Linked DNA regions of Homo sapiens: all the other regions are linked to region 2. Evidence: promoter capture Hi-C in 16 types of primary human blood cells and fetal thymus (Javierre and others, 2016). All regions are on one chromosome and are shown on one strand. Each heading gives the region's core, a stretch centred on a gene start or on the middle of the fragment in contact. The rest is flanking DNA. Distances are from core to core; before and after follow the strand shown.

Region 1 (2,700 bases), core at 84-2,583, 530 kb after region 2:
AGAGAAGCCTGAGGGATATGGTAGGTCAGGAAGGAGAATTTCCAGGGCTGCATTTTTGGGGCACTCCTGGAGTGAGGGTGAGAAATGAGGGAGTTTTGGAATTTGATGTCTCACCTTCCCTTCTTCCTTCTCTCTCTCCATCCATTCCTTCCCTCAACAACTTTTTAAATGAGCACCTACTACATGTCAGAGAGTCTATGCTATTGGTGTGTGAGAGAGGCATGAGCCAGGGTTCCCGTGCTCCCAGAGCCTGTGGTGGATCCAGTGGAGGATGTGACATGTGTTCTCGGGGAGAGTATGCAGAGGATGAGTCTCACCCATTGATTTCAGGCAGTGTGGGTGGTTTATGAGTGATGTCTTCACAAGAGCCCTTGCAGTGGCTCACACTGCTCTGCTTTCCTGCAATTTAGTTGGCTCCACAAATACCTGTTCGCATTGCCAAATTCAGCTGGAACATCACTTCCTGACACTGGACATAGATTGCAGCACTCCTAATGCCCTGTTTGTCTCTGCCTCCTGCTTCCAGGTGGAGAGGTCCTTGAAGCCTGAGACCATGGTTTACTCAGCTGGTATCCACTGCTCAGGACAAAGAAGATGCTCAGCGATGGTGCTTGAGTGAATGAATGAATGAACCTCAGGACTTGTATTTTGTTCTCAAGCACTGCTTGTTGAGGTCATTTTCTTCCCTGCCTGCAGGCTCCTGAGTTACCACACAGCCACCTAATTTAGTCAGGGGCACTATGGAGAGGGCCTGGAAACCTGGTTACACAAGTGTTTGGCCTATTAGTTCTCTATGGCTGCTGTACCAAGTTATCACAAACTTAGTGGCTTAAAGCAACACAAATGTATTATCTTACAATGCTGGAGGTCAGATGGAGGACACAGGGTTTGAGCTAGCAGGGATGCATTCTTTCTTCAGGCTCTAGGAGAGAACCTATTTCCATGCCTTTTCTAGTTTCTTAGGGCCATCCACATTCCTTGCTCCCAGCCATTTCTTCCTGTTGCTTCTACCAGCAACAGCGGCTTGAGTCCTTCTTATACCATCATCTCTCCAGGTTTCTCTCTTCTGCATCCCTCTTCCACTGAAAAAGACCCTGTGATTCCACTGGGACTACTCCAAATCCAGGATAATCTCCTATGTCAAGGTCATCTAATTAGCAAACTCAACTCCATCTACAACTTTAATTCTTCTTTGCCATGTAAACTGACATGTTCACAGATTCTGGGGAGTAGGTCATGGACATCTTTAGAGGAGTCCATTATTCTGCTTACCACTGCCTGTGATACACTTCACATCCCAGATAGGGAATCTCTTGGTTACCTTCCCATAATTCTCTTCCATTCCTGTGAATAACTGAGAGTTAACTGCTGTAAGACTTGCCATTCAAGCCAAAGACCAGTGTTAGATCCAGAAAGAACCAGGTGGGTGCTGTGGGTGAACACCTTCCTCTACAAATGGGGGTGAAAGTAAATGAGTCATGTAAGGTGCTGGCTTCTCTTTGGTTCTGAATCATGACCACAAAGATGTACTTGACCACAGATGAACCAATCTTGGGTAGAGATGACTGTTAATAACCTTGTGCCAGGAGCTCTTTTGCATATATCATCTCAATTACCACTATCACTGCAGGGTAGGTATTATTGTCCCCGTGGTTCAGGTAAGGAAACTGAAGTTGAGCCAAATTAAGGTCATGCAATAAGTGGCAGAGCTGAGTTTAGAGCTGGGGCTTAACTGATTTCACTCAATTTATGGTCAGCTCCAGGAATCCATTTCTCTTAAAAGTCCTCCTGAGGCCGGGTGCGGTGGCTCATGCCTGTAATCTCAGCACTTTGGGAGGCTGAGGCGTGCGGATCACCTGAGGTCAGGAGTTTAAGATCAGCCCGGCCAACATGGTGAAACCCTGTCTCTACTAAAAATACAAATATTAGCCTGGTATGGTGGCGCATGCCTGTAATCCCAGCTACTTGAGAGACTGAGGCAGGAGAATCGCTTGAACCCGGGAGGTGGAGGTTGCAGTGAGCTGAGATTGTGCCACTGCACTCTAGGCTGTGCGACAGAGTGAGACTCTATCTTAGGGGAGAGGCTGTGCACTTGAATTACCTGGTATGCTTTTAGATAATACCAATGACCTGCTGCAAATCAATTGCAACTGAATCTCTGGGGGTGGGGCTTGGTTGTCTGCATTTTTTTGTTAGTTTCCCTAATTGTAAACTGCGGTTGAGGTTAAGAGGCGCTGCCTTAGGAAGTGCTGTGTGTTCCCTTCAGAACCAGCTTTGTAAGAGCACTTTGTGCTCTTAACCTCAGAGTACCCAGAACTGCCCCCATCATGTCCTGTGACTAGGGAAGAAAAGTCCAGCAAGCTGGTTTCTCTCACTCTTTTGGGACTGCACTTCTTGGCAGACTTCTTGATGAAGTTATATGGGAGCCTCTCCGACTGCCCTTCACCCCTTTCTTGACTTAGCCGCTATCGGTGGGTGCCTTTGCCTGGGTGTCTCGGTCTCCCTAAGTGAACAGGGAAGCAGAGAAACAGCTCCACAGAGTGCAGGAATATATATGTTGCACTTCAGAGGATAAAAGTACTTCATTTTCACTCTCTTCTTCCCCTTCCCCTCATTGATTTTATGTTGGAATAAGTTCAGTACCAGCAGAAAATACTAATTTGCAAAGACAGTGATTTAAGTGTCTCTCCAGACTTCTTG
Region 2 (2,700 bases), core at 7-2,506:
CTTGCACAACTCAAGACTGGGCAAGGGGTATTTCAAAAATACATGTGTGTATATATATATATATATATATATATATATATATATATATGTATACATATTTTTTTTTTTTGAGATTGTGTCTTGCTCTGTCGCACAGGCTGTAGTACAGTGGCATGATTTCGGCTCACTGCAACATCTGCCTCCTGGGTTCAAGCAATTCTCCTGCCTAAGCCTCCCGAGTAGCTGGGATCACAGGCGCCTGCTACCATCCCTGGCTAATTTTGGTATTTTTAGTAGAGACGGGGTTTTGCCATATTGGCCAGGCTGGTCTCGAACTCCTGACTTCAAGTGATCCGCCCACCTCGGCCTCCCAAAGTGCTAGGATTACAGGCGTGAGCCTCAAAGATATTTTTCAAAGGAAATGCTGAGTGTTTTGCCATGTTAGCTACCCCTTCCTATCGCCAGTGGGAAATCAATTTACAATATTAATTTCTCCCTATGCACAGACATAAGAGGACTGCTGAAGGTGAGTTGGGAGAAATGTCGAATCTGCTCTAAGGAGGATGGGGAAGGTGTGTGATGAAGGTTGCCGAGGGGTCACCATCAGGTCAATGTGTACTCACCCTGAAAAGCATAGCTTTCGTGGTAAATCTCATAGGCTTTTCTGTGGGCATCACTGAGGGTCTGGAGTTGTGACGCTCTTGATTCCTGGTGGGGAAGCTCCTTGATCACTTCCTCCAAGTCACTGAAGGTGAACCAGATCCCAACTAGGTCCCCGAAGGAGTGGAAGGCGAATGTGGCATAGTCGGCGAAGAGGTCAGCAAAGGCTTCGGTTCTCCGGAGGGTGCTGGCAGGGAGGGTCTGGTGGTGCAGGATGACCATGGGCTGAAGCCGTGCAGTCTTGAGGGCCTTGAGGAGTCGCCGGTAGCACTGCACTGTTTTCTCGTCTGGATTCTGGGTGCTTCCTGCTGGGAGGAGCTGTGCCCATGACAGAAATACCTTATAATGGGTGATCTGACTGGCATGGAGACTGCTGAAGTATTCTGGCAGGAAAGTGGGCAGTGGCTGGTGACAAACATACATGTCTTTGTCCCCTGCTACAAAGTTAGAACTCTGGTCTCCCAGGAGACCACTCAGGTTGTGCAGCAAGTCATTGGTTAGAGGACCAGCGGTGGAAATGAAATTTCTATCAGACTCCCAGTCTGACCCCCAGCATGAAAAACTTAGCAGGGCAATAAAGACTACATGCCAAGACAGCTCCATTTTCTAGGAACTGTTAGGAGGTATGTGGAACCCTTACTTTATAACTGCAACTGAGGTTGTAAAATACTAAGTGATAATTAAGACTTAATATTTAACTGGGTTATCTATGATCACAAAATCAGTACACGGTTCACTAATGCAATATTTAAAAATGTAAAGATCAGGGCCGGGCGTGGTGGCTCACACCTGTAATTCCAGCACTTTGGGAGGCCGAGGTGGGCGGATCACGAGGTCAGGAGATCGAGACCGTCCTAGCTAACATGGTGAAACCCCATCTCTACTAAAAATACAAAAAATTAGCCAGGCATCGTGGCATGCGCCTGTAGTCCCGGCTACTCAGGAGGCTGAGGCAGGAGAATCACTTGAACCCAGGAGGCGGAGGTTGCAGGAGCCAAGATCATGCCACTGCACTCCAGCCTGGGCAACAGAATGAGACTCCATCTTAAAAAAAAAAAAAAAAAAAAAAGGTAAAGACCAACACAAAAACCTCAGACTTCCTATACAAGTTAAGCAGAGGAACCCGGAAAATGTCTGAAGAAAACGATTACCAATTTTTTTTGTTTTTTTTGTTTTTTGGTGACCGGGTCTCACTCTGTTGCCCAGGTGGGAGTGCAGTGGTGCGATCACAGCTTCCTGCAGCCTTGACTTCCTGGGCTCAAGTGATCCTCCCATCTCAGCATCCTGGGTAGGTGGGACCATAGGTGTGCGCCACCACGACTGGCTAATTTTTTGTATTTTTAGTAGAGATGGAGTTTTGCCATGTCACCCAGGCTGGTCTTGAACTCCTGGGCTCAAGCAATCCTCTTGCCTCAGCCTCCTAAAGTGTTGGGATTACAGGTGTGAGCCAGCGCACCCAGCCACACATTATTTTAAAATTTGTTTACATAATACAAAAATAAGTATTTTGCCCCAAATTTTCTCTTTAAAAATATGCTGAACATATTTTGTAAGAGATTCAAACAATATGGAAACATCTATGAAAAACTTGCAAATTCCTTCACCCTCCCCCCTCCTCTTCCTATAATAAGTATCTTCAGCAATATGTATCTTTCCAGTTTTCTTTCTCTGCATATCTTAATGGTTATACAGGAGTCAGAATGCCTGGGTTTAAATCTCACCTGACAAAAATTACTTAACTTTGTGCCTCTATTTTGTCACCTGTAGAATGTGGATAATTCATCATAGGCTGTGGGGATTAAATGGGTCTTTCTTGTAGCATGTATACAACAGTACAGCTCAGGGATCATTATTATTACGTAAATACAAATGGAAACGTGTATAACATTTAAAATATAGAACAATTTAACATATATGGAATTATGCCATATGTATTTTCAGCCTTTTCTTCACTTAATAGCTCTTAGAGTTCTGCCTGTATCAGAACATATAGACCCACCTCTAACAGATGCATAGCTTTCCACAGCAAGAATGTACCATAAATTAACATCTTGCATATTA
Region 3 (2,700 bases), core at 44-2,543, 540 kb after region 2:
AGAGCAAGCATGTGATGATTAAAAAGCATGGCAGAAAATTGTCAATAGCTTTGGAGATTTCATCCATACATTAAAAGACCTGTTTCGTGTTCTATTGGATCAATATGGCTCCAACGCTAGCACATTCACCTCTTGTTTAATTTGCCATTTAAAAATTTTGGTTAGTCCAATGACTCTAAACAATTCCAATGCAAAGAATAAATAAGCAGAACAGCAAATCAAACTGGATTTGTGGGCACAATTATATAGTAAGAACTCCAGAGCTGGAAGTAGAACTCTAATCACAGATTAGAATACAAATGTTTGCTTGTACATCGTACGCAGGCTCTACTATCTGCTGAATATAAATGGCTCCCTGATCGAACCTCTAGCCTGCATCGGGTGGGAAGGTAAGAGCTGGGTTTTGCTTTGCAAAATCTTAAGTCTCACCAAGAGAATCAGGGAGGCAGCCAATTGTAGTGGCAAATACGCAAAGCTTTGGAGTCAGGAAGTTATTTATTCTCTGGCTCTCGTTTTTATTATGTATTTAGTTTTTTGAGACAGGGTCTCGCTTTGTCACCCAGGCTAGAGTGAGTGGTGCGATCACAGCTCACTGCAGCCTTGACTTTCCGGGCTCCAGTAATCCTCCCACCTCAGCCTCCCAAGTTGCTGGGACAAAGATGCACACCACCACGCCTGGCTAATTTTCATATTTTTTTGGTAAAAATGAGGTTTTGCCATGTTTCCCAGGCTGGTCTCGAACTCCTGGCCTCAAGTGATCCACCTGCCTCGGCCCCCCAAAGTGCTGGGATTACAGGCGTGAGCCACTGTGCCCAGCCTGGATCTCATTTTTTAAAACCTGTAAATCTGGGACAATGCAACCTACTGCATGGAGTGGTTTTAGGGGTCAAGTAAAAATGGCCGGCAAGGCACAGAGTAGATGCTTGATATATAGCAGCTTTTCTTTCTTTCTTTCTTTTTTGAGATGGAGTTTCGTTCTTGTTGCCCAGATTGGAGTGCAATGGCATGATCTTGGCTCACCACAACCTCTGCTTCTCAGGTTCAAGCGATTCTCCTGCCTCAGCCTCCTGAATAGCTGGGATTACAGGCATGCGCCACCATGCCTAGCTAATTTTTGCATTTTTAGTAGAGACAGGGTTTCTCCATGTTGGTCAGGCTGGTCTCAAACTCCCGACATCAAGTAATCCCCTCCCACCTTGGCCTCCCAAAGTGCTGGGATTACAGGTTTGAGCTATCATGTCTGGCCCCCTATAGCAGCTATTCTTAAGTCTCCAGCTTCAGAGGGCTGGGGCCAGGAGAGGTTAAGAGGTGAACATCCATATTTACAGCCTTCATGTTTGGGGCCTTCTTCTCCCTCCTAAGGTTTTTCTGTGTTAAAATGCAAGTACATGTGCCCCTGGTGGAGAAACTCCCCGGGCTATAAAATTTTTACTACAGAATTGACAGAAATGGTCCCTGTAGATTTGGCTGAAATAAGATGTGCTTGAATTGTAAAGGGATGCCCCATATTTGGGGTAGGTGCTGTGCTAGTCACAGTCAATGTGCTTGTCAGGTGCATCCCCCTAGAAAACCAGCTGAGTTTGGTGTGAAGATAATTGGGAGGAGGAGAGTTTGGGTTCAGGGAGGAAAGGCCTGGTGGGGGCCTGCAGTGGATGGGAGAGCAAGAAAGAAGGGGCGTGGAGAAAAGTAGGGAGGCAGGTGTGGGGGTGCTAGAGGTTGTTACTTCCTGAAGTTGGGTCCCTCTGGGTGGAATGCCTTTCAGTGACCAGGGGCCACCTGTCCCACCATGTGACTCCATTGCTCAAGGAGCGTCCAGTGGAATAAGTGAGAATCTGAAGCAGAGAAAAATCATCCAGCAGCCATGTGATGAGTATGTAGGGGAGAGTTGAGGCTATGTGGTCAGCTTCGGTCCCGAGTTAGAATCAGATCTGTGACTTCAAGCAGAGTGACCCTGAGCTGGTTATCCAACTAATTCGTGACTTAGGCCTTCTGATAAACTGGGCTTCATAATATACTCATCTCACAGGGCTGGTGTGAGGATCGGCAGGGGTCATGTGAGGAAGCACTTAGCAGAGTCTAGCAAGCACTTAAATAGCAACTAGCGTCATGACAAAGCTTTATGCTCTGGATGCCCTTGACGGGGCTTTTAGCTGTGTGACCTTCAAGAAGTCACCTGCTCTTTCTGAGACTCAGTTGCTTCAGCCCTTTAAAAACAGAAACAAACACAGCCGACCACAGGGTGTGTATGGATCTGAATGAGTACAGACAAAGTCACTCATTGCAGGACTGAGTAGGAGGCAGGGTGCTGGGATTGGTGGGTTTAGGGAGGTCTGGGAGGGCCCTGAAGCTCAAGAGAAGTTTGTTTGGAAAGAAAAGCATCTTCCGTTTTGACTGAGAGGAAATGGGGAGGGGATGTGGTGCAGCGTCAAAGGCAGGGTCTGCTGACGAAACTTGGTGGTGGTGTTTCTCAAACAGAAATAGGACATTCTCACTCTCCGTGACACTCAAACTCCAAAGTTTCGGCCTGGGTGGTGGTTGCACCTGTCACTGACGACCTCACTTGACTTTGAGTTAAGCTGCCCAGGCAGCCAGAGCAACTGTGCCCTGGAAGGCGGCCCTGCCATCAGACAGACATGTTTTTCATATATTCCTGATTTTCATGTAGTAGTTCACTGGACATTTACTGCACACCTACTATAT

What was found. Contacts are between HindIII fragments. The CHiCAGO score rates a contact against its expected background, and 5 or more counts as called.
Region 1: a fragment that was not itself captured here is called in contact with the fragment with the promoter of LCT in region 2 in 1 of 17 cell types (neutrophils); the score reaches 5.9 in neutrophils.
Region 3: a fragment that was not itself captured here is called in contact with the fragment with the promoter of LCT in region 2 in 10 of 17 cell types (activated CD4 T cells, erythroblasts, M1 macrophages and 7 more); the score reaches 8.5 in activated CD4 T cells.

Annotation. Positions count from the first base shown.
Region 1 is chr2:136,361,367-136,364,066 of GRCh38, forward strand. No RefSeq gene overlaps it. Among named protein-coding and RNA genes, the nearest start is that of CXCR4, 240 kb to the left of the region's middle. The HindIII fragment of the contact is 3,737 bases long and covers 1-2,700 here.
Region 2 is chr2:135,835,928-135,838,627 of GRCh38, forward strand. It overlaps LCT (lactase), which reads right to left and starts at 1,257. Exons shown (of 17, transcript NM_002299.4): 1 at 603-1,257. The coding sequence starts at 1,242. The HindIII fragment of the contact is 13,164 bases long and covers 1-2,700 here.
Region 3 is chr2:136,380,027-136,382,726 of GRCh38, forward strand. No RefSeq gene overlaps it. Among named protein-coding and RNA genes, the nearest start is that of CXCR4, 260 kb to the left of the region's middle. The HindIII fragment of the contact is 1,640 bases long and covers 474-2,113 here.